Linked DNA regions of Homo sapiens: regions 1 and 2 are each linked to region 3. The links are contacts of gene promoters, found by promoter capture Hi-C in blood cells and fetal thymus (Javierre and others, 2016). All regions are on one chromosome and are shown on one strand. The core of a region is centred on a gene start or on the middle of the fragment in contact, and the rest is flanking DNA. Distances in the headings are between cores, read along the strand shown.

Evidence for each region. The method cuts DNA at HindIII sites, captures the fragments that hold promoters and counts their contacts. A CHiCAGO score of 5 or more calls a contact.
Region 1: a contact is called between a fragment that was not itself captured here and the fragment with the promoter of LURAP1L in region 3, in 1 of 17 cell types (megakaryocytes). The highest score is 8.5, in megakaryocytes.
Region 2: a fragment that was not itself captured here is called in contact with the fragment with the promoter of LURAP1L in region 3 in 2 of 17 cell types (megakaryocytes and endothelial precursors); the score reaches 7.0 in megakaryocytes.

The regions. Positions count from the first base shown.
Region 1 is chr9:13,030,446-13,033,145 of GRCh38, forward strand. It overlaps the pseudogene LOC100130801. Among named protein-coding and RNA genes, the nearest start is that of SNORD137, 59 kb to the left of the region's middle. The HindIII fragment of the contact is 1,824 bases long and covers 404-2,227 here.
Region 2 is chr9:13,102,533-13,105,232 of GRCh38, forward strand. No RefSeq gene overlaps it. Among named protein-coding and RNA genes, the nearest start is that of SNORD137, 130 kb to the left of the region's middle. The HindIII fragment of the contact is 3,526 bases long and covers 1-2,700 here.
Region 3 is chr9:12,773,499-12,776,310 of GRCh38, forward strand. It overlaps LURAP1L (leucine rich adaptor protein 1 like), which reads left to right and starts at 1,522. Exons shown (of 2, transcript NM_203403.2): 1 at 1,522-2,529. The coding sequence starts at 2,218. The region is part of intron 2 of LURAP1L-AS1 (LURAP1L antisense RNA 1); the gene reads right to left. The HindIII fragment of the contact is 1,821 bases long and covers 1-1,690 here.

The DNA of each region.
Region 1 (2,700 bases), core at 66-2,565, 260 kb after region 3:
AGTATTGCTCTAGCCTAGGCAAGAATGCTTGAACCTCAACAACAGCAAAGGAAATGAACAGCCAAGGGAAGATATGAAAGATTACTAAAGAAGAATTTGCCAAACAAGAGAAATTGCCAGATATCTGGAACATGGGAAAGATACTAAATATTGAGTTGGAAGCAGTGGGTTGGTATTAAGGTGATAAATCAGAAATAACAACAAAAAAGTAAATAACATTATAACAAGCAAACTGAGGACAGGCAAGGACAGCGGATGAAATGGCAATAAGGATTGAAACAAAATTTTGGTTATGATATGAATAGCCTAGAGTGAAAACTTTAGGAGTTTATTACTCATTTTATAAGGAAGCTACTAAAGCTTTCTTAGTAGGGCATGGGAAGATTAGCAGTATATTTTTGTAAGCTTTGTTGGGTACCAGTGTAGTTTAGAATTAACTGGAGAAGGGAGACAGTGGAGCAGTGTCTAAGAGACAACAGTGGGAAAAGGAAAGAGGAGAGACTCAAGCTGTTTCACTGCTAGAATATGGCAACAGGCAGGGCCAAGTTTATAGCAAGCACTCACAGGTACAGAAAAGTCAAGCATGGGCCGGGCGCGGAGGCTCACGCCTGTAATCCCAGCACTTTGGAGGGCCGAGGCGGGCGGATCACGAGGTCAGGAGATCGTGACCATCCTGGCTAACACGGTGGAAAGCCCATCTCTACTTAAAAAAAAAAAAAAAAAAAAAAAAAAAATTAGCTGGGCGTGGTCGTGGGCGCCTATAGTCCCAGCTACTCGGGAGGCTGCACTCCAGCCTGGGCGACAGATACTCCGTCTCAAAAAAAACAAAACAAAAACAAAAACAAAAACAAAAATCAAGCATGATAATATTGTTATCAAAATATCAGAATGGAAAGAGGGGGAAGGCAGTCAAAGTTAAGGGTGGAGGCAGCAGGTGAATCAGAACAGATTCTCAGTTCCATCTGGAACAAGTTAAGTTTGAGTAGCTGGTGGGTTAATCAGGAAGACACATTCTGCAGACAGCCAAAGCTGAAGGGAGATGAAGATTGTAGAGACAATTAGGTTATCACTGAGGTTAAAAGTACCAAACAAGACTGTCCTGCCTCCACGACTTACTCTCTGTGTGACTCTGTGAAAGTTACTTATCTTTTCTGTGACTCAGTTTTCTCTCTCTCTTTTTTTTTTTTTTGAGTTGGAGTCTCACACTGTTGCCCAGGCTGGAGTGGAGTGGTGCAATCTCGGCTCACTGCAACCTCTGCCTCCCAGGTTCAAGCCAGTCTCCTTGCCTCAGCCTCCCAAGTAGCTGGGATTACAGGTTCCCACCACCACGCTCCGCTAATTTTTGTATTTTTATTAGAGTCAGGGTTTCACTATGTTGGCCAGGCTGGTCTTGAACTCCTCACCTCAGGCAATCCTCCCACCTCAGCCTCCCAAAGTGCTGGGATTACAGGCATGAGCCACCGTGCCTGGCAGAAAATAACATTTTAATTTTGTCATCATGTTTACATAAGTTCCAATTTTTTTTAGGTCATGTAAATATAGAGCAATTTAGGCAGAGAATAATTTCAATTATTGACCACAAGAATTGTTTGTTTGTTTGTTTTAAAGAAAGATTTTTTTCTTTTCTCTCAAAATGGTACTGTGACCATAAAGACATTTTCCTATAAATTCATAAAGAAAATAAAGATAGTTTGGTGCTTAACACTCGAGACACCTGGAGGTAAAATAAATAGTTGCCAAGGATTGTATTTACAATTATATTTTATATGAAGTAACACATGGTCTTATTAGCTTCAGTTTAATATAATTCTCCCTGCAAATGTCAGTGGAAGTGAAAAGAATCTTCCAAAGAAGCTGAACCGGAAGCCGATATGCTTACAAGCATGGGCGTTGGGTTGTGTTTTGATTTGGTAGGGAAAGTAATGGAAAACTCTGGGCTTCCTAGGTCCCTCTTCCTTGACGTATAGGCCACAGTGATTTGGCAAAAGCAGAACTGAAGCAGAACTTTCTGAATTTTTTCAGCGGTAGTATATGACCCCATTATACACACCAACTGTGTGGGCTGAGCACGTGTGAGCAATGGAAGTGAACAACCTAACACAAGATGAGACAAGGATGATTTAGTGAAGAGTCGCAACGCCTTGAGAACATAGCCATAAAGCAGGTTTATTTTCCCAATCATTGTTAACAAATATGCTCTGCTCATTAAGATCACATTTTTTTTTCAAGCTTGTTAGCTCATCTGATCATATAAATTTTCACTTGTTTTATGTCATTAGAGGAGTTCCTTTTTCCCGCTCCGGCGCCTCATTGTTGGAGCAGGGCCATCTCCACATGGGACTTCAGGGAGGGAGGCTGCCGCTCTCCCTGAACGCTGCGATCGCTGAGGCCTAGAGGCTGGGTATGAACACAAGTGTTCTTCCAGCTTCCTACTACCTGCTGTTTTTGAGTCTAAAATTATCAGAGATTGTTCATATTTATTCATTTATTTTTGAGATAGAGTCTCACTCTGTCGCCCAGGCTGGAGTGCAATGGCACAGTCTCGGCTCACTGCAACCTCTGCCTGCCGGGTTCAAGCAATTCTCCTGCCTCAGCCTCCTGAGCAGCTGGGATCACAGGCGTGCGCCACCATGCCCAGCTAATTTTTTGTATTTTTAGTCCAGACAGGGTTTCATGAGGCTGGTCAGGCTGGTCTCAAAC
Region 2 (2,700 bases), core at 1-2,500, 330 kb after region 3:
TCAGTACTTGACTGACAATAACAATTCTTACACAGATAATACCATTTTTGTTCTAAATTACACTGAAATGAATATGGAATACTTGTATTTTGAGGAAAAGGAAAATTCAATGCCAAGCATATAAAAATCACCTTAAGAACATTTGCTTTCCCCAGTTTTCATGCTCTTAGTTAGAACTTTTCTTGACACCAATTTTTTGCCTCTTAAGGTATTGAAGGCCAATCCTGCCTTACAAATAACTCTCTTTAGAAAAGGACAAAGTTAAACATTAATTCCTAGTAGTCAAAGTTGAGAAACATCTTTGCACAAATCAAATGCATTCCAGAATATCTGTCACTGACATGAAACAACACACCAGGGCTGCTGAAAGCAAGTGATGATAGTTTTGACATTCCCACACCTAGACCAAAAAAAAAAAAGCCTATTTATTACTTGTCTCCCTGAACACATCCTTTCAACTTCTCTATTCACCCTGGGATCTCAAGAGGGGCACCAAATCATTGTACGGCATTCTCAGACAATAAACTAGCTGAGCAAATCTAAGGCAGTTTAGTATCATATACCTCAGAGCAGGGAAGAGCTCCTTTTGCTTCTTCCTATCTATCAGAATCTGCTTTGTCAAGATTCATAAAATGGAAAAAAAAAACCCTCTCCTCCTTTATCTTTTTTTTTTTTTCGCGACGGAGTCTCACTCTGTCACCCAGGCTGGAGCACAGTGGCGTGATCTCGGCTCACGGCAAGCTCCACCTCCCGGGTTCACACCATTCTCCTGCCTCAGCCTCCCAAGTAGCTGGGACTACAGGCGCCCGCTACCATGCCCGGCTAATTTTTTTGCATTTTTAGTAGAGACAGGGTTTCACTGTTAGCCGGGATGGTCTTGATCTCCTGACCTCATGATCTGCCTGCCTCAGCCTCCCAAAGTGCTGAGATTACAGGTGTGAGCCACTGTGCCCGGCCCCTTTGTCTTATCTTTAACGAATTTTAATTTTTTTATGCTTCTAACTCCATCACTGTTCTGATATATGAATTTTACTGATTGGCTACATTACCTTGCTATTCCTGCTGCTAATATATGTGTGTGTGTGTGTGTGTGTGTGTGTGTGTGTGTGTGTGTGTGTGTGTGTATATATGAAATACTTTATTACTGTTATTATCCTTTTGGAGTGGTATGAAGAATACCAGAAATCTGTGGTATTTCCAGTTTGATTTAATCAAACGTAATTATATTTATGGAACCTATTATGGGCAATCCACTGTTTTGGGTAGTATGTTGGCATTAACATTGTAATAGTCAAGTCTTTATTTAAACTCTTTGTTCAAGTACTTTCTTCTTTCTTCTTTCACCACAGACAACTACTATATTTCCAGAAAGAAAAAATATAGCAAGCATAAGGCTTCATTACTTATCCCCAGGACTTATGAATCTATATTCTTTTCCTCTCAAACTTTACTTTCCTTCCTCCCTCCCTCCTTCCATTTTCTCTTTAATGTGCTTTGTCTTTGTTAATTAATAGCTACTCACAGAGTTTCTCCTGTTAGCCAGACATAATGACAGTAGCTCAGGACACAAACTTTTTTTTTTTTTTGAGACAAGGTTTTACTCCCATTGCCCACTGGAGTGCAATGGTGCGATCTTGGCTCACTGCAACCGCTGCCTCCCAGACTCAAGTGATTCTCCTGCCTCAGCCTCCCGAGTAGCTGTCTGGCTAGTTGTTTTTTTTTGTTTTTTGTACTTTCTGTAGCGACGGGGTTTTACCATGTTGCTCAGGCTGGTCTCAAAATCCTGAGCTCAAGAGATCAGCTCACCTCGGCCTCTCAAAGTGCTGGAATTACAGGCATGAGCCACCACGTGCAACCAACATTTAAGATACTCTAACAGTTTCCCAGTGCTTAAACAAAGTACCACAAACTGTGGCTTAAAACAACAGAGATTTATTTTCTCACAGTATAGAGGGCAGAAGCCTGAAATCAAGGTGTCAATAAGGCCAACTTCTTTCTGAAGGCCCTAGGGAAAAAACATTCCTTGTCTCTTCCAGCTTTTGAGGGCCCCCTAGGTATTCCTTGGCTTGTTTGTTTTGTTTTGTTTTGCCTCCATCTTCATGGGGCCTTCTTCCCTATGTCTGTGCCTTCACAATACCTACTTACACAGAAACCAGTCCTAGGATAGAGAACACCCTAAATCAGCATGAACTTAACTCATTACATCTGCAAAGACCCCATTTCCAAAGGTCACGTTCTGAGGTTCCAGATGGACATGAATCATGGGAAGACACTATTTAAACTGGGCTGTTCTTGTTGGGGGCACTTAGACATTATGAAACTTGAAGGGGTTGGGTGGCTTTCTCCCATACAGTCTGGTATGGAGCATCCTCTATAAAAATTCTTTGCTAGCTCAAACTCAGATGTGAGGTTAGTTCATCTTCCAGCAGCCTACCATGAAATAATGGCATCTTTCGTTATGGAGAGCCACTAAATGATGGCTAAGAAGGTAGATGTGTCACTGGGATACTAAAATGAGTTTTGTTACATTGAGCGCCTAAATTTACAATGATTGGTTAACAACTTTGAGTTGTTACAATATGCAGTTTCTTCTATTCGTTTTGTGTAACTAAGAATCACGGAATTCTTATATTTTAGAACTAAATAGAACCTTTGTGATAAAATAATCTATCATTTTACAGATAAGATGAATGAGAGGGA
Region 3 (2,812 bases), core at 272-2,771:
ACATATACGTATATATTAAATTATCCTCAGCCTCAAATACTGATTTTGCAGTCTGTGATTCATAGCAGAAGAGGTGTCCCATTTTTCTATATTGACACACGATAATTTGACATTTGTTTTTTACTGACCAATTTCTAGCTAGATATTTCATCTATAAACTGCACTTAGCCAGCCTTATGCTGAACTTTGTAAGGGTTTTGTAATAATAAACTGTTCTTGACTGAAACACAAGCCTTTCATAATTACATGCCACAGTGCAATTCTTATGCAACGAGCTTGTGTTTTTCCAAATTTAGGACCAAGCATGTAGTTTTATCAGTTAGCTGGGATTTGGTCTTGTTTTCCCTTGATTCTGTAAGTGGTAGTTCTAACTTTGAAATGGGTCATCTAACTTATAACTATTTTCTTCATTTCTTTTTAAAAGGGAGAAATAGCATGCAAATTTCTGGCATGTTGATAGAAAGTTCAGCATTTTTTCCCTGACATGAAATATTTCATTTAGAATGCGTATGTTTCCTCTACGTATAAGGTTTCCTAGAGTCAGATATGATAAAAACAAACTCTGAGATGTATATACCTATGTTCCTACAAGTGTAAAACCTGAATGATGTCTCTGGAAATGGAGCCTCGGAGTGACCAGGAACACAAATACTTATATGTCACAGAAATAGAGGGGCACATACTTTGAAATATTTCAATGGAAATCAAAAATTGTAGTTTACTGGATTGAAATTAGTATCCTCTACTTAAACATTTTTGACACAAACTCAATGCTGATTCAGATCTGTAATCCATGTAGCTCATAATAACTTACTTGGTAGAAGTATTTCAGATTAATGAATTGTACAATTGTACAAATTAATAAATTGTACAATTGTTCAACTATACAATTAATTGTACAATTTGTATAGTTGAAAAAATCTATAAATTAATTTATAGATAAATTATCAAAGAAGACAACATTTTAAATAGTTATTCCCAATATTTTTTCTTCCATAATTAAAATAAAAGTAAGTATCTCAGCAATTGCTTGTTCTTAAAATTTCACTGCTATCTCAGCAGTCATGTAAGTTATTCTGGCTATTTAATTTTTCACTTTTGTTTGCATACTGTAACAGTTGGTAGGATAATTAATTTTGATTGTACATTTCCATTGAACTTTTGATGAAATTGTTTCACTCTTTTTATTAGAATAAAATTATTAGGAAAGTCTTCTAAAGAGAGGTTTTCTGTTTGTTTTTCCTTTGAGGAAGGTAGAGAGATGGGAAACGAAGACACCAAATATAAAGTCATTCCTCTATCTCTCATTTTAAAACCTGTTTTAAAGGTTGTAGCTAGTCAGGAAAACTGAAAAATCAACTGGTATTCCTAACTAAAGCAGGGCTTTGAAACTCTGCTACTAGCGACAGGGTTGGGAAAATTCCGGTTGCTCTTCTTGTCTGTGATATACGGTAGAAGGGTTGGTCCTGGTTTGGTCCACCTGCCAGCGGAGTTTAAAGTTTCCGAGGCTCAGAGGAACACAATGACTTGGATCAAACAGCCTAAATGGGAAGAAGGACATTTTTGCTGCATCAAGGAAGCCGTTAAACTCCTGCTAAGCTAACTAGCTCTTTTTTATGGGTCCATGCACACGACCGAACTCCTCTTTCACTGACCAGAGATTATTTCTGACAACCCAGGATATCCCGAAAGCTTGGAGGCATATGGCTGGAAAATGAAACGACCCAGGACATCGTTTCTGGCTGCATCATTATTTTGTGTCGCGTAGTACCAGATGGGCAGTCAGTGAGCGGCGCAGGGATGTGAACGGACGGTTTTATAATGTGAAAATTTTCCCTTGGTAAAGCTAAAACAGATTTAATTTCCCTCTCTTTTCTTTCACTACTTCCCCCTCTTTATTCCCCCTCTGTCTGCAATATCAGTGAACTCAACTTTGCAGTGAGGTGGCCAAAAAGAGAGAGAATGAGGAGATCTTGATCATCTTAGTGTCGGAGGAGTCGCAGCGGACTGGGAACTGCAGCTGCGACCCCCCGCGTCCTGTGCGGATTTCAGGGCTGATACCGCATAGGCGGTTATGGAAAGGACGGTACACCGGAGCGGCGGAGGATAGAGACCCTGGCCCCCGGAGAGGTCTGCTGATTTCGCAGCAGCCTTCGAAGCCGTGGCTGCCTTTCATCTGCTGCGTTTTATTACTATTATCGCCGTTCCGGAAAAGTCATGGAAGACAGCCCGCTGCCAGACCTCAGAGACATCGAGCTGAAGCTGGGGCGCAAAGTACCCGAGAGTCTAGTGCGCTCTCTCCGTGGGGAGGAGCCGGTTCCCAGGGAAAGGGACAGGGACCCCTGCGGGGGGAGCGGTGGTGGTGGCGGCGGCGGCGGCGGCTGCAGTAGCAGCAGCAGCTACTGCAGCTTCCCTCCCTCCTTGTCGTCCTCCTCTTCGTCCTCCCCAACCTCTGGCTCCCCACGAGGTAGCCACTCTAGCGCCCTGGAGAGGCTAGAAACCAAGCTTCACCTCCTCAGGCAAGAGATGGTGAGTGTGGTGCGCCAGCCGCGGGGGCTGGGACCTGGGCTGGGCCAAAAGATGGGGCGATCTGAGAATGGGGCTGGGAGAGAGGACGGCAGGGGCTGCAGAGCGGAGCGCTGGGCGCGTGGGAAATGCTGGGTGGAGGAATGAGCAGGGGGCGCTCATCCGGAGGCAGCTGCTGCGAGGCTTGTTTACCGCGGACTTTGCTCGGTCACGGTTTGCAAAGACAGCACAGTCGGCTGGCTCCACTCTGTGTACTTTCGGACAACGCGACTCACTGCGCCGGGCT